Regions from separate parts of the Homo sapiens genome. Here all the other regions are linked to region 2. The links are contacts of gene promoters, found by promoter capture Hi-C in human tissues and cell types (Jung and others, 2019). All regions are on one chromosome and are shown on one strand. Each heading gives the region's core, a stretch centred on a gene start or on the middle of the fragment in contact. The rest is flanking DNA. Distances are from core to core; before and after follow the strand shown. Region 1 has its middle 45 kb from the start of IGLL5. Region 2 holds the start of RAB36 (RAB36, member RAS oncogene family). Region 3 has its middle 15 kb from the start of IGLL5. Region 4 has its middle 59 kb from the start of GNAZ. Region 5 has its middle 38 kb from the start of LINC02556. Region 6 has its middle 87 kb from the start of IGLL5. Region 7 has its middle 35 kb from the start of LINC01659.

Region 1 (2,700 bases), core at 122-2,621, 210 kb after region 2:
TGGGGCTTGGGGCACTCTGGTCCACTGGCCTGGACCAGCATGAATGTTCATGGCCTTGGTCCACCGTCCAACCCAGAGAACTGTGCACCCTGCAGGGCCCTGCCTTGGGCCTGGCTCCCAGCATCCTCTGCTCATTCCCTCTCCTCCACCGGGTGGTCACTACCTGTGTCCTATGCAGGGCCCAGACCTCTTTTCTCCCTTGTTCCCTGCCCCCCTGGAAGCCTGGTCCATCTTGGAGCCCATCCATGTGGCACAGACTCCAAGGACTTCCTGGGTATTAAGTAGGGTGGCAGGCCAGGTGACGTGGGGGACAGAGTATGGGGCCTTTGAGGTGAGCTTTCAGGGTGCTTCCATGAGGGCCCTTGTGCACTACTGTGGCCCTGTGGGAAGAAGGGATGCTGTGGTCACTCCTATACCTTTGCTCACACTCACCCCTAACACACCCGTCCTCTCTCTGCCCTTCAGTCCTTGATCCAGCTCCTAGGCCTGTTTGAGGTTGCTGCTGCCACCAGGCTACCTTTGATGACCACATGGAATCCCCAGTATCTCCTGCCCCTTGTCTTCTTCAAGCAAGGGGGTCTCATCTGCAATCTGAGCTCTGGGCTGGGCGGGGACAAGTACCCCCCCTTGCTTGCTTTACTTCAGGAACTGGCCTGGGTGGCTGGCATCCTGTGCATGTTGAGGGGACGGTGGTGGGGGATGCCAGTGGATGAGCTGATTGAAGATGGTGCTGGGTCTAGGGCCACCCTGTTCAGCCTCGTGGGTGGGCCTGTGGGGAGGAAGGCAGAGGTGGGGGCACTCATCCCTGGCCTGCCCACCCTACAGTTCGCATCTTATGTGTCAGGTGACATGTGCAATGGCTACGTGTGGCGGGCCTGGCTCCTGGCTTTCCTGGGCCAAGGGAGCTCCAGGCTGGTGTCCTCTAAGAATGAGCTGGTGAAGTCCCACAGGTGGATGGGATTTGCCGTCTGCAGGGGTGAACCCAGGCCCTGAGGCTGGGTACTTGGTCTCCTCCCATACTCTCATCAGAACCTGGAGCCCTGGAATATCCTGGGAACGTTTCCTCCACATGGAGAAAGACAGGGAGGTCTGTAACGGGGGCAGTGGGTAGGATCTGGTCATCGGACAGGGGGCATTAAGCCTCACCACAGTGGCCTGTTCCTCACACCTGTCAACCTCTCTTTGACCTCAGCATCTAGACCCAGCATGGGGAAGACTGGACAGGGAATGGGGCACCCCAAGGCCACAGCCCCCTCCTCCCATGAGAAGGCACACTCCAGGTCTCACCTGGGGGTGGGCTGGGGCAGTCCTGCCTTGCCTGGGACACCATGTGTCAAGAGCCCTGCACAGGCCAGGCCTCGGGGCTTGTGGAAGGATGAGTGTGTGTGTGTGTGTGTGTGTGCGCGCGTGTGTGTGTGTGTGCATGTTCAGATATATGGATGGACAGACACACAAATAAGTGACTGACCAGTCTGAGGTCCTGCCCACTGGGTAGGGACCCCGGAAGTCCTCTTGGCAGCTGTGCTTCCAGGAGCTTCGTTACTGCCTCAGGCTCTGGGCTCCCAGGGAAGCTCTTGGAAGGGTTCTTGTTTCCCTTCCCATCCCCTTACTTGGCCCAGCTCCCTTGAAGGGTCCAAGACCTGGGGGCAGCAGGTGGAGTGTGATCAGCAGGGTCCCATGTCCAGCTCTGGCCAGCCCTGCCCACCCCAGGCCCCTCTGAGCTCCAAGTGTCTGGCTGTGCCCCCCAATTGGGCACAGCTCTGAACCTGGCATTTAGAACGGTTCCTGGGGAGCTGTGAGGAGGGGGTAGGGCCTGCATGAATAGAAGCTTCTGGAGCAGAAGGTGCTACTTCTGATCATTGATTGACCATGATCTCCAGACCCTGTCTAACTCAAGCCTGGGCACGGGGCTTGGGTGTCTTGGTGCGGGGACACAGGACCATTCTCCAGCTGGGCTGGTGGAAGCTTTGGAAACTGAATCGCCCCCCTGCCTCCCACCCTGGGGAGAAGGAGGCACCTGCTGCCAGGGCTGAGGCTTGGTGGGGTTTCCCAGCTATTTCGGGCCTCAGGCACTCTTGGTTTCACCAGGCCAGCTGCACTGGGGTGAGGGTTCCAGGGCCGGTGGGGAGCCCAGCATGGGCAGGGGGCTGGCCTGAGGCTGTCTGGGGCTGGAACAGCCCAAGGATGAAAACAACCAACGGCAGAGACAAACAAAACATCTATTTTCCATCTGATTGTCCCTCCCCCCACCCAGAGAGTCAGTTTCCATTATTATCAACCCAGCTGCACAGAGGGGAAACTGAGGCTGAGCTCGAGCCACTAACTCCAGCCACAGGGGCCTGGCGCTAGTCAGGGCTCCTCAGTCGCTGGCTGCCTCCAGCCCCTGGGACGTCGCCCCCCGTGAGACCCCAGCCAGGTGCTCCCTACCCCCCATCCTCTGCCCTATTTCTCCCCAGCACAAATCCCGCCTCCTACATGACATTGTTCCTTGTCTGTTGACTTGATTTCCCTCTCCCGCAAACATGAGCTGTCTGAACCTGGCTGTGCCTGCCTTAACCCTGCTGGGTTTCCAGGAGCAGCAGGTCCTCAGAAGAGAGCTGAACATGTGACTTCGCTCTGGGCAGCCCCTGAGAAGGGGGCTTACTTACCTGGCCGGTCTGGGGTCTCACCTTCTTCAGCTACTCTGCCCAGCAGCCCCTG
Region 2 (2,700 bases), core at 127-2,626:
TCCCACCTTGGGCAGTCAGTGACCAGTCTCCCAGCTCCTCAAGGTAAATCTGACAATGGACAGACCTCCTTGATTCACCTGCTTTACTTCTAGGCATGAGTGTAGAGTGGGGAGAGCTGATGTGGCTGCAGGGCCAGGAGAGCACTGCAGACGTAATGACTCTCTACCTTAGGGAAGCTGGCGATGACACGGTCGCGGCTCACAGGGGGCCCCAAAGGTGTCAGGGAGGACCTCATTCTTCCACAGTCCTGTGGACCCAACCAGGAGAAAGACAGTTAAGGAGCTGTGCAAATACCTGGGGATTCACCCATGAGTTTCCACCTAACTTTTCATCAGATCCAGGCTGGGTGCAGTGGCTCATGCCTGTAATCCCAGCACTTTGGGAGGCCAAGGTGGGAGGATCACTTGGGCCCAGGAGGTTGAGACCAGCCTGGGCAACAAAGTGAAACCTCAGTCTCTACAAAAAAAAACCAAAAAAATTAGCAGGGCATGGTGGCCTGTGCCTGCAGTCCCAGCTACTTGGGAGGAAGGTGGGAGGAATGCTTGAGCCTGGGAGGTCAAGGGTGCAGTGAACCGTGAAGGTGCCACTGCACTCCAGCCTGGGTGATAGAGTAAGACCTTGTCTCAAGAATTATAAATAAAACCAGATCCAGGCTTCCCTCTCTGTCAGGAATATGGGGCAGAGGCCATTTCTCTCAATCTGCATACAGCAGGCAGCATGGTATGGGGGAACCAGGCCTGCCCCACCCTGCCTGGGAGTCAGAAGACCTGGGTCTCCCCTTGACAGGTGTCTACCAAGGAGGAGCTCCCCTCTGAGCTTACCTTACTGGGCTGTGAGGCATGGCACAGCTCAGGCAGTGGAAGTAGAGTGGGGAGGGGTCTCCTGCTCCCAGTCTGCAAAGGACGAAGGCTCTAGGTGGGCCTGGGGGCCTTAACTTTCAGCCAACTAGGCCTTTTCCCTGAAAACCCTCACTTCACCAGGCCTCTGACTCCTCGAGCCTCCTCAACAGCCCCTCTGTCTCCTTTTTCTGTCCGGACTCCTCTCCAGGCTGGGCTGGGGTGGTCCTGGCGGAGTCCGGTTGTCTTCCCGCATCTGACCTGGCTCTCCTCCACAACCAGCGCGGGCCTGGCCCAGAGTTTGCGCTCCGGAAATGAGGACGCCCCGGGGCCGCAGGCCGCTTTCAAGTTATAGGGGCGGGAAGTGGGCGCGGACGCTGTGCCCTCGCGGCCCTGGCCTCGGGATGTGCCAGCACGGGGTTGGGTGACCGGGAGGGTCGGACAGAGTGGGCGAGCTGACTCACCAGCGATGGCTGTGAAAGCTGGGGCTCCGCGCGGCCTGGTCCGCCTGAGCCAGCGGCGGCGATCACCATGGCAACGAGAGCCACGCGGGACCTGCGGGCTACACGAATCGTCGACGTCGTGGGCGGGGTCTGCGTTGGACTGGCAGCGGCGCGTCCAAGCATCCAGCTTGCACCGGCGATCACCATAGCAACGAGAACCTGCCTGGAGTCTGGGCGGGGCTGGCAGCAGAGAGACTCCTGGACACCCTGGAGAGCCGGAGATCACCATGACAACAAGGGCGGTGCTGGATGGGTGGGCGGTGGGCGGGGCTATGGAGGCCCGGGGGCGGAGCCTGAGCCCTGGGTGGGGCTGACCGTGGAGAGATTCGCGCAGGTTCTGGTGATCAGCTCGGCTGGGAGAGGTTGGGCGGTTATGGCATAAGAGCTCCTGATGTGGTATTGATGTTTAATTGGAGTCAAGCACCCTGCAGCTGCAGAAGATAGACCTGCCTACCATCTACTGACCTTAGTCTGCATAGTTCTGAATCCAGTGCTGTCTGAATATCATATGCCTGGCTTCTAGAGCTCACGGTACAAAATTAATTTCCTTAATAAAAAGCTGACCTGAGTCAGTGATTTCCTCTGAACTAGTTTCGGTTTGGAAAGTTAGCTGTTTTGGGCTAGATGGCCTCTTGTGGCCCTTATAAAACCGTGGAACCAGCTTCGAAGTCCGGGGTTCAGTTTGAGAACCTACTTAATTCAGCTCCTTAACTTTTCTGCATCACAATATGGAAGCCTTGGTACACAGATCTAACTCAGTCATCTTCAATTCAAAGCTAAGTGTGCTGGAGGCTGGTGTTTGATGTCTTTTTTTTTTTTTTTTAAAGAGATGGAGTCTTGCTATGTTGTCCAGGCTGGACTCGAACTCCTAGGCTCAAGGAATCCTCCCGCCTCAGCCTCCCCAGTCCTTGGGACTACAGGCAAGGGCCACCACACCTGGCTCTGTTTAATGTCTTTTAGTGAGTTTCACTGCTAAGGTTGAGGCTTAGGGGGTGAACTTAGGTGAGTTGTTCCACCTTCCGCACCTCAGTTTACTCAACTATAAAATAAACGCAACTATCTATTTCAATGGATCACCTGAGATGGTGAAAGTGCTTTTATACTGTAAAGCTTGATTCAAGTCCATTAACTATTCATTTGTCCTACATGTACTGAAAGCTTCCTGGTATATGCCTAGCACTGGGGAGACAAGGAAAGAGAACGGACATGGTGTCCACCCTCAGGGAAATTGGAGTCCACTGCGGGAAGCAGAGAAGTAAATAGAGAATTAGGGGAAGGGAGTGTGCCAATGGGATTTAGGAGAAGGGAAGATTAAGCTGTGGGGTCACTTACTAATTTGGATTTGGGGATTTGGCAGGAG
Region 3 (2,700 bases), core at 181-2,680, 240 kb after region 2:
AGGATGGCTGGGCCCCGGATCTTCTGTGTGCAAAGTGGCTCCTTCCTAGAGCATGAAGCACACTCCTGGGTGAACAGAGCCCAGCTGCAGACCTCTGACATCACAGACACTCTGCAGCACTCATGAGAAGGAGGTGAACTGAAGCCTCAACCCTCTGCCTTCCTTCCCTTCTGAGGGATGTAGCTATTGACCATCCTATGCAGCTAACATTACTACAAGAGTGGCAGTCTGACATGGGTGACTCTGCTGGTAGCAGCTCCCTGTCCTTGCAAGCTATTTTGCAATGTCCAATCTGAATCAAGTTAATCCCCTTCATGCTAGAATCATTTTCCAGGAAAATAAAAGCTGAGGGAAGCCCTAGGTTCCTGCTCCAGGAGGCGTGGCTGTATAGCAGCCAGGGGAAGTTCTCCAGACAGCTCTCAGCTCCTGCAGCTCCTGCCTTGCCGGGAGGCTCTAGAGCAATTGAGGAAATATTCACCAGTGACAACCAGCCTGATGGCACATGCACCCATCACCATTTGATGTCATATTGCTCCTCATATAAACTTAAACCCCCAAATACCAACAGCACCAACATGTAACTAAGCCAAAGCACTTCTGGTGTTTCTGATGCATTTGAGGAGACCCTGCTTATTTCTCGATATTAGGGAATTAGTGATAATTTCTATTTAGGTTTGGTAGTGATATTATAGTTATTTTAAGGTCCATGTCATTCCAGGACAGTAATGGAGTACTTACAGCTGAACAGATCTGATGTCTTGTATTTCTTTCTAAATGTTGTGTAAGGGAGAATTTATTTTGCTGTGGGTGGGTCGGCATCATCTGTGAATTGCTTATTTTGAGTGCTGGGTGATGAGAACATGGGACACTGTTATTTTTCTGTCTCCTTATTTATATGTTCAGAGTTCTTCATAATATAAACTTATGACACAGCTCAGTCTTTGGACAGCTGCTGGGTGTGAAGTAGACCTTGGCCTTGTACCCAGCAGGCCTACGTAACTGGCCCTCCTTGGGTGGTCTTAGTTTTCTCATTTGTGAAATGGGCTTAGACAGGGACTGTGGCCACTAGAACCTTTTAGCCTTCTTCTAATTCAGAGGCTGGGATTTGGATCAGGGGTGGCTGTGATCAAGCACCAAGGGGCCATTTCTCTGCCTCATTGTGACTGCAGAGCTTCCTGTCTTTGCGGGCTCTGTCCCTGGCCTGTCGGGACCACCCAGCAGCTCTGGTGAACTCAGCTGCCACATTCCTGATGTGCTGGAGGCAGAGACAGGGAGTCTAAGTTTGCGTGGGCACTAAGAACGCACAGTCATCCAGGGCCTCCATAGAGGTTTGGGTAGGAAGGCTCCACCACTGTGACCAAGGGAGGGCGAAGGTCCCAGTGGGCAGGAGGGTCTGGGGGAGCTGAGTGTTCATGGATGCCTGACCTTGCCTGTAGCCCTCTGTCTGCATTCACACAGCCCTGACCCAGCCTGGCCCAGCTCCAACTCTTGTCATGAATTTGACACGGCCTCCTTCACTCCTCGAGCCTGACCCTGAGCCTGTAGCCATCTTATCATACACCCGTAACATCTTTGTTCTTAAATCTCACTTTATGTTTCATAAACTACTTCCATGACATACTAGTATCTTGCAGAATATTATGGGGCTTTTAGAGGTGCCAGATGGATAAATGTGACTTTACATAAGCTAAGCTTTACCACAGGAAATTATTTCCCTAGTAGAGAACTTTTCATTGCCTTTACTTGGCTAACGTGCATTGTCAAGTCTAGGAAATGCACCTGTATGTTTCATTCTCCAAGGCTTCTCAGGACATCCTGGTGGCAGCACAAGTATGGACTCCTTTCCTGCTAAACGGTCTTGTGTGGAATGGGGATTTTCAACTGTGTTCCTGCTGAGACCATGACATTGACTCATAGGTGCTCTTCACCCTTACTTCTGCCTCTAGCCCACATCTGGGCTCCCCAGAGACCCCTTCACTTCTCCTGATTTCCCTCTCCGGACTGTCCTGCATCCTGATGCTGGGCCATGGTATTTCCCAGTTTGGCAAGAGCTACAGCCCACCAGATGCTTGCAGGACAATATGAAACTCTGGATCATGGATTCTCCTGACACAGAGAGCTCACCAGAGTCACTGGCTTGTTGCATAGGGTCAGGGATGCCATGGCAGGGACCTGGCATCTGACCAAGAGCGGACCTATCCCCTGTCCCGGACCAGCAACTCTTTAGCCCAGAGACTGGAGCAGACACAGAAGGCATGCGAGAAGTGCCGTGTGATGCGTGGTTAGGTTTCTGTTGAAAGGCAGAATCTAGGAGAGTGTGACACCCCCCTGGTCCCAGCCAGGCGAGGCTGGTGGCTCAGGGGTACAGTGGAGAGCTGAGGAAGGGGTGTCTGGGTGAGGAAGGCCTTACCTGCAGAGATGCCCAGGGAACTGAGAACCCCTTCACATAGGCAACTTTCCCACTGGGTTCAGGGTTCTTTCCACCACAAATTGAGAACCCAGGAAAGGCTAGGAATTATATGTGAGAAAAGAAAAAATGAGATAAAACAAGATTTCTGATTGACAATGAGAATATTTATTGAGGGTTTATTGAGTGCAGGGAGAAGGGCTTGATGCCTTGGGGTGGGAGGAGAGACCCCTCCCCTGGGATCCTGCAGCTCTAGTCTCCCGTGGTGGGGGGTGAGGGTTGAGAACCTATGA
Region 4 (2,700 bases), core at 40-2,539, 130 kb after region 2:
ACTAGAGATTGGGTTTCACCATGTTGGCCAGGCTGGTCTCGAACTCCTGACCTCAGGTGATCTGCCCACCTCGGCCTCCCAAAGTGCTGGGATTGCAGGCGTGAGCCACCGTGCCTGACTGGCTTCTATCTCTCTCATAAAGAGTTTTGCTACAAACTGCAGAGATGTTAGGTAGAATGAGTGTTTGGCCTAGCCATTAGATATGGAATTCAGAACAATGTGATTCCCGTTTTTTCTTAGAGGTGCCATCCCCACACTCACCCCAACAGCCACGGGCAGGCATGGTGTGTGGTGGTTCCTCTGCTCACCCCCTCCCCTCCCTGCTTAGGAGCCTGGGCGTGTCTGCTGCATGCGTGTGCCATGTTCAAGGGCTAAGCGAGGCAGCAATGAGCTGCGCACACCTCCCAGTCCCCAGGGAAGCCTCGGGTTAGGGGTCCCATGTAGCCAGATGGCTGGCACCTCCCACTTGGCTGGAAAAAGGATGGGAAAGTGATCTTTTCCTAAAGCCTAACCGTTTCTGGTCAGACCCTTCTCCAAAACTGCACTGTCTGAAATTAGCTGTGTTTTTTTATAGTCTCTGACGCTCAGTTGCTTGTCTGTCACTCAGCCGCTTATACCTTGACACTCAGCTGTTTGTGTTGCTCTGCCTCTGAAGTTTTTTATGGGCACAGGATAGGGGTGGAGCAGGCCAAAAAGGCAATATTTGGGTGGAAAAACAGGGTCAGCTGTTTTCACTTAGAGCTGTGGTTCCAGGGTTAAGGTTGGGGTTTAGCCGAGAGCCCAGTCCTTCTGTATCATCCTCATCTGTGAGACAAAGATGCTGATGGCCCAGGCAGCTCTAGAGCCAAAGGTTCCACCATGGTACCCAGTCATCTTGTTTTACTTCCCAAAGCCTATTAACATGACTGATCCCCAAAGCATAATGTCAGCATTCAAGATGCTGGTATAAACCACAGCTATCAAACCACCTGAACAGGCAAAGAGAGAGAAAGAAAGCCACATTTGACTCACTCTTCTGAAAGTTACTCCCACATCAAGTACTCTGTATACTCCCCACCACACCCCCAGTTCTCCACATTCAGGCGCTTGATCTCTTTAATTCAGTGAGTGACTTATGCTTAGTTTTAGTCCATCCTGTTTTCTCTCTTTAATGTCCTTCATGATCTCTTGTTGGATTCTTATCTTGCCCTTCTGTGTCACAATTTCCTAATTTCCCTTTAATTCCCTTTCTTAAAAATTTTTATCATTATTTTTTAAGACAGGGTGGAGTGCAATGGCATGATCATAGCTCACTGCAGCCTGGATCTCCCAGGCTCAAGCAGTCTTCCCACAGCCTCCTGAGTAGCTGGGACTACAGGTGTGTGTCATCACACCTGGCTAATTTTAAAAATGTTTGTAGAGACAGAGTTTGCCATGGTGCCCACACTGGTCTCAAACTCCTGAGCTCAAAGGATCCTCCTGCCTCAGCCTCCTGAAGTGCTGGGATTATAGGCATGAGCCACTGCACCTGACCTGGAAGCAACAGTTAACAGCCAGCAGAGCTCCCCCTGGCCCAGCTGTGACAACCCAGAATGCCTCCAAACATTACCAAGTGCCCTCTGGGAAGAAAAATCCAATTCCCACTCCTCTGCACTGTGAACCACTGATTGAGGGCATTCTGTGCCTCACTTTGATTCTTTCCCCTTGGTCTCTGGTGAACTGCCAGGGAAACACCCAGCATCTGAGATTTGCACTGTTGCTGGAAAGAAGGAGTGGTGAGAGCTTCCACTCTCAGAACCTAGGCAGTAGCTGCCTAGGACAGAACTGCCCCTACAAAAGATTCCATCTGATCAGGCCTGACCAGGTGGCCCATGGCTGCTGCCTCCCCATCATTTGTCTTCTGTGCTCCCAGTCTTTTACCTGGTGGCCTGCAGTGTCCCTCCCCACCGCAGACATAATCGCTGTTGTCCCTGTCAGACCCCTGGGAGGGACCCAGCCAGCCCAAGCTGATTTCTAGTGGGAGGACACTACTTAGGCCCCCCGTCTCTGTTCTTTTCATTGTTCAGTCTCCTCAGGTCTTAGCAATGTCATTTACAGACTTAGGGTAAGTGCAAAAGCTGGAGACTGCTGCTTCAATGTCTACAAACTCTATAAAGAGTTTTTCTACAAACTGCAGAGATGTTAGGTAGAATGACATCTCTGTCATTCACAGAGATAGACTTCTCTATCTTTAGGTAGAATGACTTCTCTGTCATCCACTAAGTAGAGTGTGCCAATGTAAGTACTTGTGTGGTTAGAGTAACCTCACCTGAGATGGTATGAATGCCAGCAATTTTCAGCGAGATTGTGATCAGTTAAACACCCATTTCCTAAACTATCTTCATGAACACGGCAGAAGAGCAAACCTCCAACTGAAATGAATACGGAGTCAGCAGGCTGCACTTTCACTTCCAACTGAATCCACAGTGATTCCACAAAGACACTGACCTTAGAAGCCATCTACCAGAGGTGGTATCTGAATAGCACTACATCACCAGTGGACACTGGGTAAGGTTCATCCGTTTTGTTGAGCATAGGCTTGTGCCCCATGAGTTCAGCCAAGGTTAGTACTTTTAGGGCTTGAGTTAACCCCATTCTTCCAGTGGCACAACTTAGCCTCTTCCACTCTGGAGCTTCAGAGAGGGAATTAGTTCAGAGAGTTAGTTGTTTTTACAGTTCCAC
Region 5 (2,700 bases), core at 136-2,635, 220 kb before region 2:
GAGCCTCTAGATCTATTGTCTCAGAAAGCATTTAAAGCAATTCCTTCCATCATCGGAGTCAATAACCCCGAGTGTGGCTTCCCGCTGCCTATGGTAAGAATTGTGGCTGTCCATACTGCCACTCCCTCAAACTGTGATGCAGCTCTTGGCTTCAACAGCTGGGCATTTCCACAGGTGACATCCACTGTTGTAAGTGCTGGAGCCCACCAGCCAAGCACACAGTGATCACCTTTCCTCTCTCTGAAAGAGGATAAGCGAGGACCAGGCCAGGCCAGTCACAGCAAGTGTCTGCCTTGCTCCTCATGTGATGAGGTTTAGGGTGGAAGAAACAACTACATAAAAAGGAAAGAGGGGATGGGTCCATTTGGTCTTTGTTCAAAAAATACTATAAATTATTGTTTCCAAAAAATGCAGTTACTACTTCAGAGTTGACATTCAGATAGGTTTGAAAAACTTCAGTCCTTTAAACTTTTCATGTCCAGCCTTGGTTCTAGCATCTTGACATCCAAGAATGCTAAGGTTGTATAAGTTGCAAAATTGTTGAATCATTTTATTTATTCAACAAGTATGTGCTGAGTATTTATTACAGGCTTATAAAAACTGAGCAGTTGGCAGCGAGCGTGGTACCAGCTTTCTGAGCGCTTACACTCTAGTGGGGAGAGACAGAGGAGACACGAGGTTGAGAAGATGATTTCGGAGAGTGATAGATGCTATGAAGGGCACAAGTGGGGAGAGAAGTTATCTTTAGGGAGACAACAGGTGGTTAGGAAAGGCTCCTCTGGGGGAGAGATTGTTGAGCTGAGGCCTGGGTGCCGGGAAAAACCCATGATTTTTTGATTCCATGGTTTAGGAAGACTCTCTTCATTGGAAATAAACTTTTCATCTGTCCTCAGAAGAGTGGAGGCTTCAAATTCCTAATACTGTTGAAGCTCATTTATATAGACTGACCTCATTTTAAGCTGGGGGAAATGGGGTTAAGAAATAAAGAGGTTTGTCAAATTACAAAGCTAGTTGATGGCTGCTAGAACCAGAATCCCGAGTTCATTGGGTTGTGAAAGCATGTTGTACCATTATTAATTTGACCTCCAAGGCAATGTTTTCAAGTGGGACTAGGGATTTTTGTCCTCATGTTGCAGATGAGGCCAGTGAATCACAGTTGATGGCTTAGGTAAGGCCTTTCAGTGATTTCTGGGTGTGTATTAGAAAGAAGAAGGCAGTGCTAGTGATGACAACCACCACTGTAACTACTGTAACCAGTTCCCCAATGCCTTCTAGTGCCAAGCACAGGCAATCCAAGCAGGAACTTGAAAACAGGCATGATTATCCCTATTTTAAAGAAACTGAGGCTCAGAGCAGCTAAAGTGGCTTTCCAGCATCTCCTAGCTAGTAAGGAGACACTGGTGTGTAATTTTTATGCATTTAGGCTCTGTTTTTTATTTTATTTTATTTTATTTTTGAGTCAGAGTCTCACTCTGTTGCCCAGGCTGGAGTGTAGTAGCACAATCTTGGCTCACTGCAACCTCCATCTCCCGGGTTCAAGCGATTCTTCTGCCTCAGCCTCTAGAGTAGCTGGGATTACAGGTGCCTGCCACCACGACTAGCTAATTTTTTTTGTATTTTTAGCAGAGACAGGGTTTCACCATGTTGGCCAGGCTGGTTTTGAACTCCTGACCTCAAGTGATCCACCCACCTTGGCCCCCCAAAGTGCTGAGATTACAGACATGAGCCTGTGCCCAGACTAGGTTCTGCCTTTAAATGCCGAGTTCTCTGCTTACCTGCTGTGTGACATTAGGGAAGTTGCCTACCCTCTCTGAGTCTCCATTCCTTCATCTGTGAAATACGGCTATTCTTAGCACCTACCTCACAGCTATACATCAAACAGTCTGGCATATAGTCAGTCCTCAGTAAATGCTAGATATTGGAGTTATTCAACTGACAGAATTTGCAGAGCTCAAAAGCCTGTGTGGGTGCTGAAATTCCATGTGAATTTGCAGTTAAACCCATTGCTAGCTGTTAGAAACCACAGGAAATCCCCCAGAAACAAATCCCAGCTCCTTAATGTACAAGAAGGTTTTTAGTAGTTAGAATATGCTTGTAGGTAACATGAATGACTCTGAGGTTCCCCTGAGATTCCAGGAGACAGGTATGGCCCTAGTATTCATTTAAGTATTGGCCCTAGTGATTCATTACCCCAAGATTTTCAGCAGAAAACATACCAAGAAAATTTATTTGTCAGGTGGATAGTATTTCTGCTGCCTCACATTTTAAAGCTGTAATTTTGCCAGAAAATGGTAATTTCACAAATATTCACACAAAGCGCTTACTATATACCAAGTACCACTGTAAGAGCTTTACAAATATCAACTCTTTCAGTTCTCATCACCACCCTGGCAGGAGGTACCTGTTGCAAACTCCATCTTACAGATGAGGAGCCTGAGACAGGAAAAGTTGAGTCCCTTGCCAAGTTCTCAGCTGGTGGCCACCAGCCTCACTGCTACTGCCTGACCTCCCACTGTGGCTTCTCAGAGGCCCCACCCGCAAAGGTCGTTAGAAGGAGAACAGCAAATACCAGTTTTGAAATTTTCTGGCTTCTCTTTGAACTTGGTGTCAAAGCCAAGTTGGTGTCTCTTAGGCAGTCAGGGCTACCATAACAAAATACCACAGACTGGGAGGCTTAAATGACAGACATTCATGTTCTCA
Region 6 (2,700 bases), core at 63-2,562, 170 kb after region 2:
AGATTTTGAGGTTCACTCCATACTTACCACTCCAATGATTCTACCTTCTGTTCTGATCCCAATCCCAGATGAGAACCCCCAACTGAAATGGCTACATTTTCTGGGGTGTATACCCTGGGTTTTGTTGTCTCACACCAAGAAAGAATCGAGGACATGGACACATGTGGGTAGGTTAAGGAGTGGAGAGTTTAATAGGAGAAAGGAGAGAGAAGAGAAGCTCCTTGTGAGAGAGAGATGTCTGAAAAGCGGGAGATAGTGGACCGCAGCAGATTTTATAAGTACGCTGGAGAAGGTGGTGTCTGATTTACATAAGGCTCACAGATTGGTTCAATCAGGTATGATGTTTACATAGCATTGCATAATAAGTAATCTTATGCAACTGAGCTTACCAGTTGCCCGGTGCCATCTTGTCTGCTCTTTACTGTTCACGTGGCTGACAAAGTGAAGGGAATATGGAGCTGTCGTCTTGAACATGTCTAGTCCCTAGTTCCTGCCAGTATTCACCTGTGCAAGCTCCCATCTTGCTTATCTGTGGCTGCAGCTTGAATTTACAGGCTGTTCTTTGTAAGAAAATAATTTGGGGCTGCTTTTTATTAATGAGAAAAGCCTTACCAAGGAGTTCCATACCCTTACTATCTGGGTAAGTGATTTCTTCTTAACTCCTGTATCAATAGCATTTGGGAAGAGCAAATGAAAGCTACGAGACATCACTGCTTTCCCATCAGATTGGCACATGCACAAATTAAACAAGCAGCTGTCAAGGCTGGGGAGAGCTTGGGGAAAAGGGCATGCTCATATGCTGCCAGTGTGAAATGCAGATGTCAACAACCTTTGGGGATTGCCATTTAGCGATAGCTATTAAAATGTAAACATGTCCTTCTGACTCTGCAAGTTCAATTTTGGGAATCCACACCACACAAATGAAAAGCACCAACACAGTAAACAAACAAACCTGGCAACAATCTAAGTGTCAATTAATAGGGAAGAGCTGAATAGTACACGTTTGTATGACAACTATGTAGCTGATTAAAACATGAGCTAGGTCTGTATCTATTGTATTGTATCTATTGTACCTTAGGACTCTAATATATTAAGTTAAAAATCAAGCTGCAGAGTAATGTGTTTGATATAATCCTACTTTTTGTGAAGACAATGCAAAAATTCTACATATGCGTTCGTATGTTTGCATAAGCACTGAGAAAGGGGAGGAAGCTCATGCCTGTAATCCAGAATTTTAGGGGAGCTAAGGCAGGAAAATCACTTGAGTCCAGGAGTTTGAGACTAAACTGGGTAACGTGGTAATACCTGTTTCTACAAAAAATTAAACAAGTATTAGCCAGACGTTATGACATGCACCAGTAGTCCCAACTACTTGGGGGAGCTGACATGGGAGGATCACCTGAGCCCAGGAATTCAAGGCTGCAGTGAGCCGAAATCATGTTATTGCACACTACACTCCAGCCTGGGCAAGAGAGAAAAGACTCTGTAAAAAAAAAAAGAAGAGAGAGAAAGACAAGACAAAAGGAAGGGGAGGAAAGATACACAGCTTCTGGTTACTTCAGAAAGATAGGAATGGATGGGGGAAGAATAGTAACTTATTCTTTAAGGTTTTATGCATTTTTCAGTTCTTACAATGAGCATGCAAAACTTTTGTAGTTAACAATATATGATTCTTTTTTTTTTTAAACAATGTATGATTCTTAAAAAGAACCAGGGGAAAGATAATCTAAAAAAGGAAAGGAATCAGAGCTTTCTGGATCTGCATGCATGTTTTATGACTTCCAGAAAGGAAGGAGCAGCAAGTGTCCTCTGGAAGTGACCAGATGGCTCATTCATCCTTTGCCTTTGGCCAGACATAGACCCAAAGTGTGACCAAGACAAAGTTTTGTGTGGGCTTCCTAATTCAATAACAGCACTAAGGGAAAGATCCCCAAACAGGTGCTCAATCTTCAGAGCCCCTGCCCAGGCCACCCAGAATGATGCTTCTAATAACTGAGGACAATTTTTAAAAATTATGTGAATGATCTGGATAAAAATCTCAGATATAAAGGAGTCCCTTTACATTTGGAATAAAGGGCCTGTATTTTCTCTTCTGATACAAAAGTCTCTTAAAAGAAAGGAGTCCACAGCTCCATTGCTGCAGCTGCCCACTAGAAGCGCAGTGATGCATAAGCCCTCGAGATTGCCCAAAGATTGTACTTCAAAGGGCCACATGTCCCACTGTAAGAAGCCGTGACCCAATAAACACCCCAAAGTAAGGTCACATGGGCATGCAGTCTTCAGCTGAGTAGGGGCCACCCAAAATAAAAACTCCACCATTGGTTAGCAATTAGTGGCATTGTTTTGGTGGCATTGTCACCAGCCACTCCTGCTTGGTGATGCAGGCCAGGCAGAGGCCTCTAATGGTTAATAGCTCAGCTTAGGGGACATAAGTGACAGCAACCTAAACTTTCATACTCACTTGACCTTCCAGTGGAACATAGGCTGTATCTGGCCCTGGATAGTGTGGTTAAGGGACATCTTTTTTTTTTTTTTTTTCCAGATTTCAATAGCTTTAGGGGTATAAGTGGTTTTTGGTTATATGGATGATTTTTAAAATGTTTTTATTATACTTTAAGTTCTAGGGTACATGTGCACAGCGTGCAGGTTTGTTACATAGGTATACATGTGTCATGTTGTTTTGCTGCACCCATTAACTCG
Region 7 (2,700 bases), core at 1-2,500, 250 kb before region 2:
AATCGCAGCCTGTCCTACAATAATGTGCTCAACCCTGGCTCGCCTGGTGGCCACGCCTGCCTCGCCCATCCAGCAGTTGGCGTGGCCGGATACCACTCACCCTACCTGCACCCTGGGGCAACGGGCGACCCACCATGGCCCCTGCCCCACAGCTTCAGTCCCGTGCTGGGCCCCCGGCCCCAGGAGCCCTCGCCTGTGCTCTACGACATCCTGTCCAGGACCATCATGGCATCCATCCAGGAGCGCAAGGACAGGGAGGAGCGTGAGTGCCTGCTGCGCTCCCAGGCCGACTCACTCTTCGGCGACTCAGGCGTCTATGATGCTCCCAGCTCCTACAGCCTGCAGCAGGCCAGTGTGCTGTCTGAGGGCTTCCGAGGTCCTACGCTGTGCTACAGCTCTACAGATGACCTTGTGGCCAGGCCCGGCTTCGGCGGCGCCTGCAACCCTGTCCTGCAGACATCATTGTCCTCGCTTTCCAGCTCCGTGAGCCGTGCACTGCGGACGTCGTCCTCCTCCCTGCAGGCTGATCAGGTCAGCAGCAACGCCCCGGGGCCCCGGCCCAGTAGTGGCTCACACAGGTCGCCCGCACGCCAGGGCCTGCCCTCCCCGCCCGGCACTCCCCACTCACCATCCTACACAGGCCCCAAAGGTGTCACCTTCATCCAAATGGACCTCCTAGAGCCACCGCCCTCGCTGACCGTGCAGAGGTGGGTGCTGGGAGGTGCGGGTGGGCTTCCTGGCACAGGGCAGCTGTCCAGCCGTCTGCAGGGCCCCTCTTGGCTGGGCACTCATAGGTCATCCCAGGGGCCTGAGTTTTTCTCTGGGGACGGGACAGGGAGGATGCGCCTCACCCTGCATTGAAGGCTTTGGCTAGCCCGTGTGGCCCAGCTCTGAGGATGTCCTGGGCATGCTCTGGGGACAGGGTATGAGAATTTGTGTCCTGATCCCAATGACTTGTTCTTCCAGAGCTGGCACAGACCCAGCACGTAGGAGGCCATGGGGCTTTCTCTTTGGGGTCAGTATCATGTGGCAGCCTGGGCCTCCTTTAGGCTGTGGCTCTGGCATCCTGGGTCACAGTGGCCCTGTCTACCCGGTGCTCTCCCTGGGCCTGCTTTGCTGCATCTCTAGGAGGCTGGGGCTGAGGACATTACCTCGCAGCAGAATGTGCCTCCCTGGGTGGCCGGGCCCTGGCCCTCCCTGTGGGACATAGTTCTGGGAAGCAGGGGCTTCCCTGCTCGTAGTGGGGAAACTGAGGACTGGAGAAAGCAGGCTGGCTCCAGGCACCCAGCAGGTTGGTAACTGAGAGAGCGGGGTCAGCTGGCTTGTAGGCCCAGGCCCAGGTAGGAGAGCTGCACACCTGCTGGGGCCAGGACCCACGCCACGGACGCATGGTGTCCTCACGGCATCTGTCGTCTGTCACCCCGTCTGGGCCTGGAAACCTCAAGCACAGGCTCAGCTGTTTCCTGTCGTCAGATGCGGCCCCAGGGGGAGAGCCCAGCCCCGCCCAGCCCAGCCCAGGCCACTTGGCCACAAAGGGGCTGAGGGCACAGCAGTCCAGCCCTGAGGAGGCCTCCCCTACCCCACAGGGTAGGAGTCTGTTCAGCTTTTGTGGAGTTGGGGAGGAGGCTGCCACTGGGAGTGATGAGTGGGGAGCCCGAGACCTAGAAGTGGGCAGCATTGCAGCCAGGCAGGGATCGCAGCCCGGGGACAAAGGGCTCTCACCTTGAGAAGGTTTAAGCAGCAAGGATAGAGCTGCTGTTGGTCAGCGCTGGTGGGCAGGAGGGCAGCCCCTCGTTTTCCTGAGAGAGAGCAGGAATGAGGCCAGGCAGAGTGGCCGGGCTCCCAGTGCAGAGCAGGGCAGGGGCTCCATTCAGTGCCCACCTGACTGCCCCATGCTCTCTGTGGCCAGTGCTGCCTAGGGACCCAGGGACTTGGGAGGGTGGTGGCAGTTCTGACAACATCTGTCCTGTGATGGCACAGCCGCTCCCCAGGCAGGCTCTGCATCTCCCTCCTACTTTCTGGGTGAACCCTCCGAGCCTAGAGGGCAGGGACTGCCCAGGGCCCCACGACATGGCTACACCAGTCCACGTCTGTGTCGTCTCTGTCCTGTTGCCTCCTCCGTCCTCTGTCCCCGTGTTCGTGTGTTCACCGTGTGCATGCGTGTATGTGCTTGTTTTGATGCAGGGACCACCCTCAGCTGAAGACTCCCCCAGGTAAGCTTAATGGGCAGTCTCTGGGCCTGGCCCGGCTGGGACCTGCCACAGGCCCCCCAGGGCCCTCTGCCAGATCTATGTGGCACACGCTGGTTAAGAAGGTGTCTGGCGTGGGTGGGACCATGTACGAGATCCTGGTGTGAGGACTGACCACCACCCATCCGCCGTGGTGCCACGGGGACCAGGACCCCGCAGCACACCCCCGTTCCCCATCAACTTCTCTGCCCCAGGGACCCAAGGCCACCCCAGCCTGGTGTGGACCCATCGGCGGGAGAGAGTGCCACGCCTCCACAGCTTGCCGCAAGCGCTCTGCCTGCCTGTCCACTCATCTGCCCGTCCACTCATCTGCCCATGGGGAAGTTGGCTCACTGGGCCAAGGGCCACTGGGCTGGTCTGTGTCTGGGCCCATCCCATGGCTGGGGCAGTGAGGGGGCCCAGTCAGTCTCTTTGGGGCACGCTCTCTCAGCCAGGCTTGGCTCACTCCCAT

Evidence for each region. The method cuts DNA at HindIII sites, captures the fragments that hold promoters and counts their contacts. A contact is called where the count stands out against the background at its distance.
Region 1: a fragment that was not itself captured here is called in contact with the fragment with the promoter of RAB36 in region 2 in 4 of the 25 tissues and cell types used here (dorsolateral prefrontal cortex, lymphoblastoid cells, mesendoderm cells and 1 more).
Region 3: a fragment that was not itself captured here is called in contact with the fragment with the promoter of RAB36 in region 2 in 7 of the 25 tissues and cell types used here (IMR-90 fibroblasts, heart left ventricle, heart right ventricle and 4 more).
Region 4: a contact is called between a fragment that was not itself captured here and the fragment with the promoter of RAB36 in region 2, in 1 of the 25 tissues and cell types used here (lymphoblastoid cells).
Region 5: a fragment that was not itself captured here is called in contact with the fragment with the promoter of RAB36 in region 2 in 5 of the 25 tissues and cell types used here (dorsolateral prefrontal cortex, liver, mesenchymal stem cells and 2 more).
Region 6: a fragment that was not itself captured here is called in contact with the fragment with the promoter of RAB36 in region 2 in 8 of the 25 tissues and cell types used here (adrenal gland, dorsolateral prefrontal cortex, heart left ventricle and 5 more).
Region 7: a fragment that was not itself captured here is called in contact with the fragment with the promoter of RAB36 in region 2 in 2 of the 25 tissues and cell types used here (lymphoblastoid cells and thymus).

What each region holds. Positions count from the first base shown.
Region 1 is chr22:22,931,419-22,934,118 of GRCh38, reverse strand. No RefSeq gene overlaps it. Among named protein-coding and RNA genes, the nearest start is that of IGLL5, 45 kb to the right of the region's middle. RefSeq lists an enhancer at 1,945-2,054. The HindIII fragment of the contact is 4,927 bases long and covers 1-2,700 here.
Region 2 is chr22:23,144,153-23,146,852 of GRCh38, reverse strand. RAB36 (RAB36, member RAS oncogene family) reads right to left here and starts at 1,376. Exons shown (of 11, transcript NM_004914.5): 1 at 1,302-1,376; 2 at 168-248. The coding sequence starts at 236. It also overlaps a transcript of RSPH14 not described here. RefSeq lists a silencer at 1,554-1,623. The HindIII fragment of the contact is 15,551 bases long and covers 1-2,700 here.
Region 3 is chr22:22,901,290-22,903,989 of GRCh38, reverse strand. It overlaps IGL and IGLC2. Among named protein-coding and RNA genes, the nearest start is that of IGLL5, 15 kb to the right of the region's middle. RefSeq lists an enhancer at 1,574-1,673. The HindIII fragment of the contact is 9,575 bases long and covers 1-2,700 here.
Region 4 is chr22:23,010,502-23,013,201 of GRCh38, reverse strand. No RefSeq gene overlaps it. Among named protein-coding and RNA genes, the nearest start is that of GNAZ, 59 kb to the left of the region's middle. The HindIII fragment of the contact is 5,108 bases long and covers 1-2,700 here.
Region 5 is chr22:23,363,671-23,366,370 of GRCh38, reverse strand. It overlaps the pseudogene CES5AP1. Among named protein-coding and RNA genes, the nearest start is that of LINC02556, 38 kb to the right of the region's middle. The HindIII fragment of the contact is 9,016 bases long and covers 1-2,700 here.
Region 6 is chr22:22,973,049-22,975,748 of GRCh38, reverse strand. No RefSeq gene overlaps it. Among named protein-coding and RNA genes, the nearest start is that of IGLL5, 87 kb to the right of the region's middle. The HindIII fragment of the contact is 4,015 bases long and covers 1-2,700 here.
Region 7 is chr22:23,397,591-23,400,290 of GRCh38, reverse strand. It overlaps the pseudogene ZDHHC8BP. Among named protein-coding and RNA genes, the nearest start is that of LINC01659, 35 kb to the left of the region's middle. RefSeq lists enhancers at 1-747, 837-1,391. The HindIII fragment of the contact is 6,507 bases long and covers 1-2,700 here.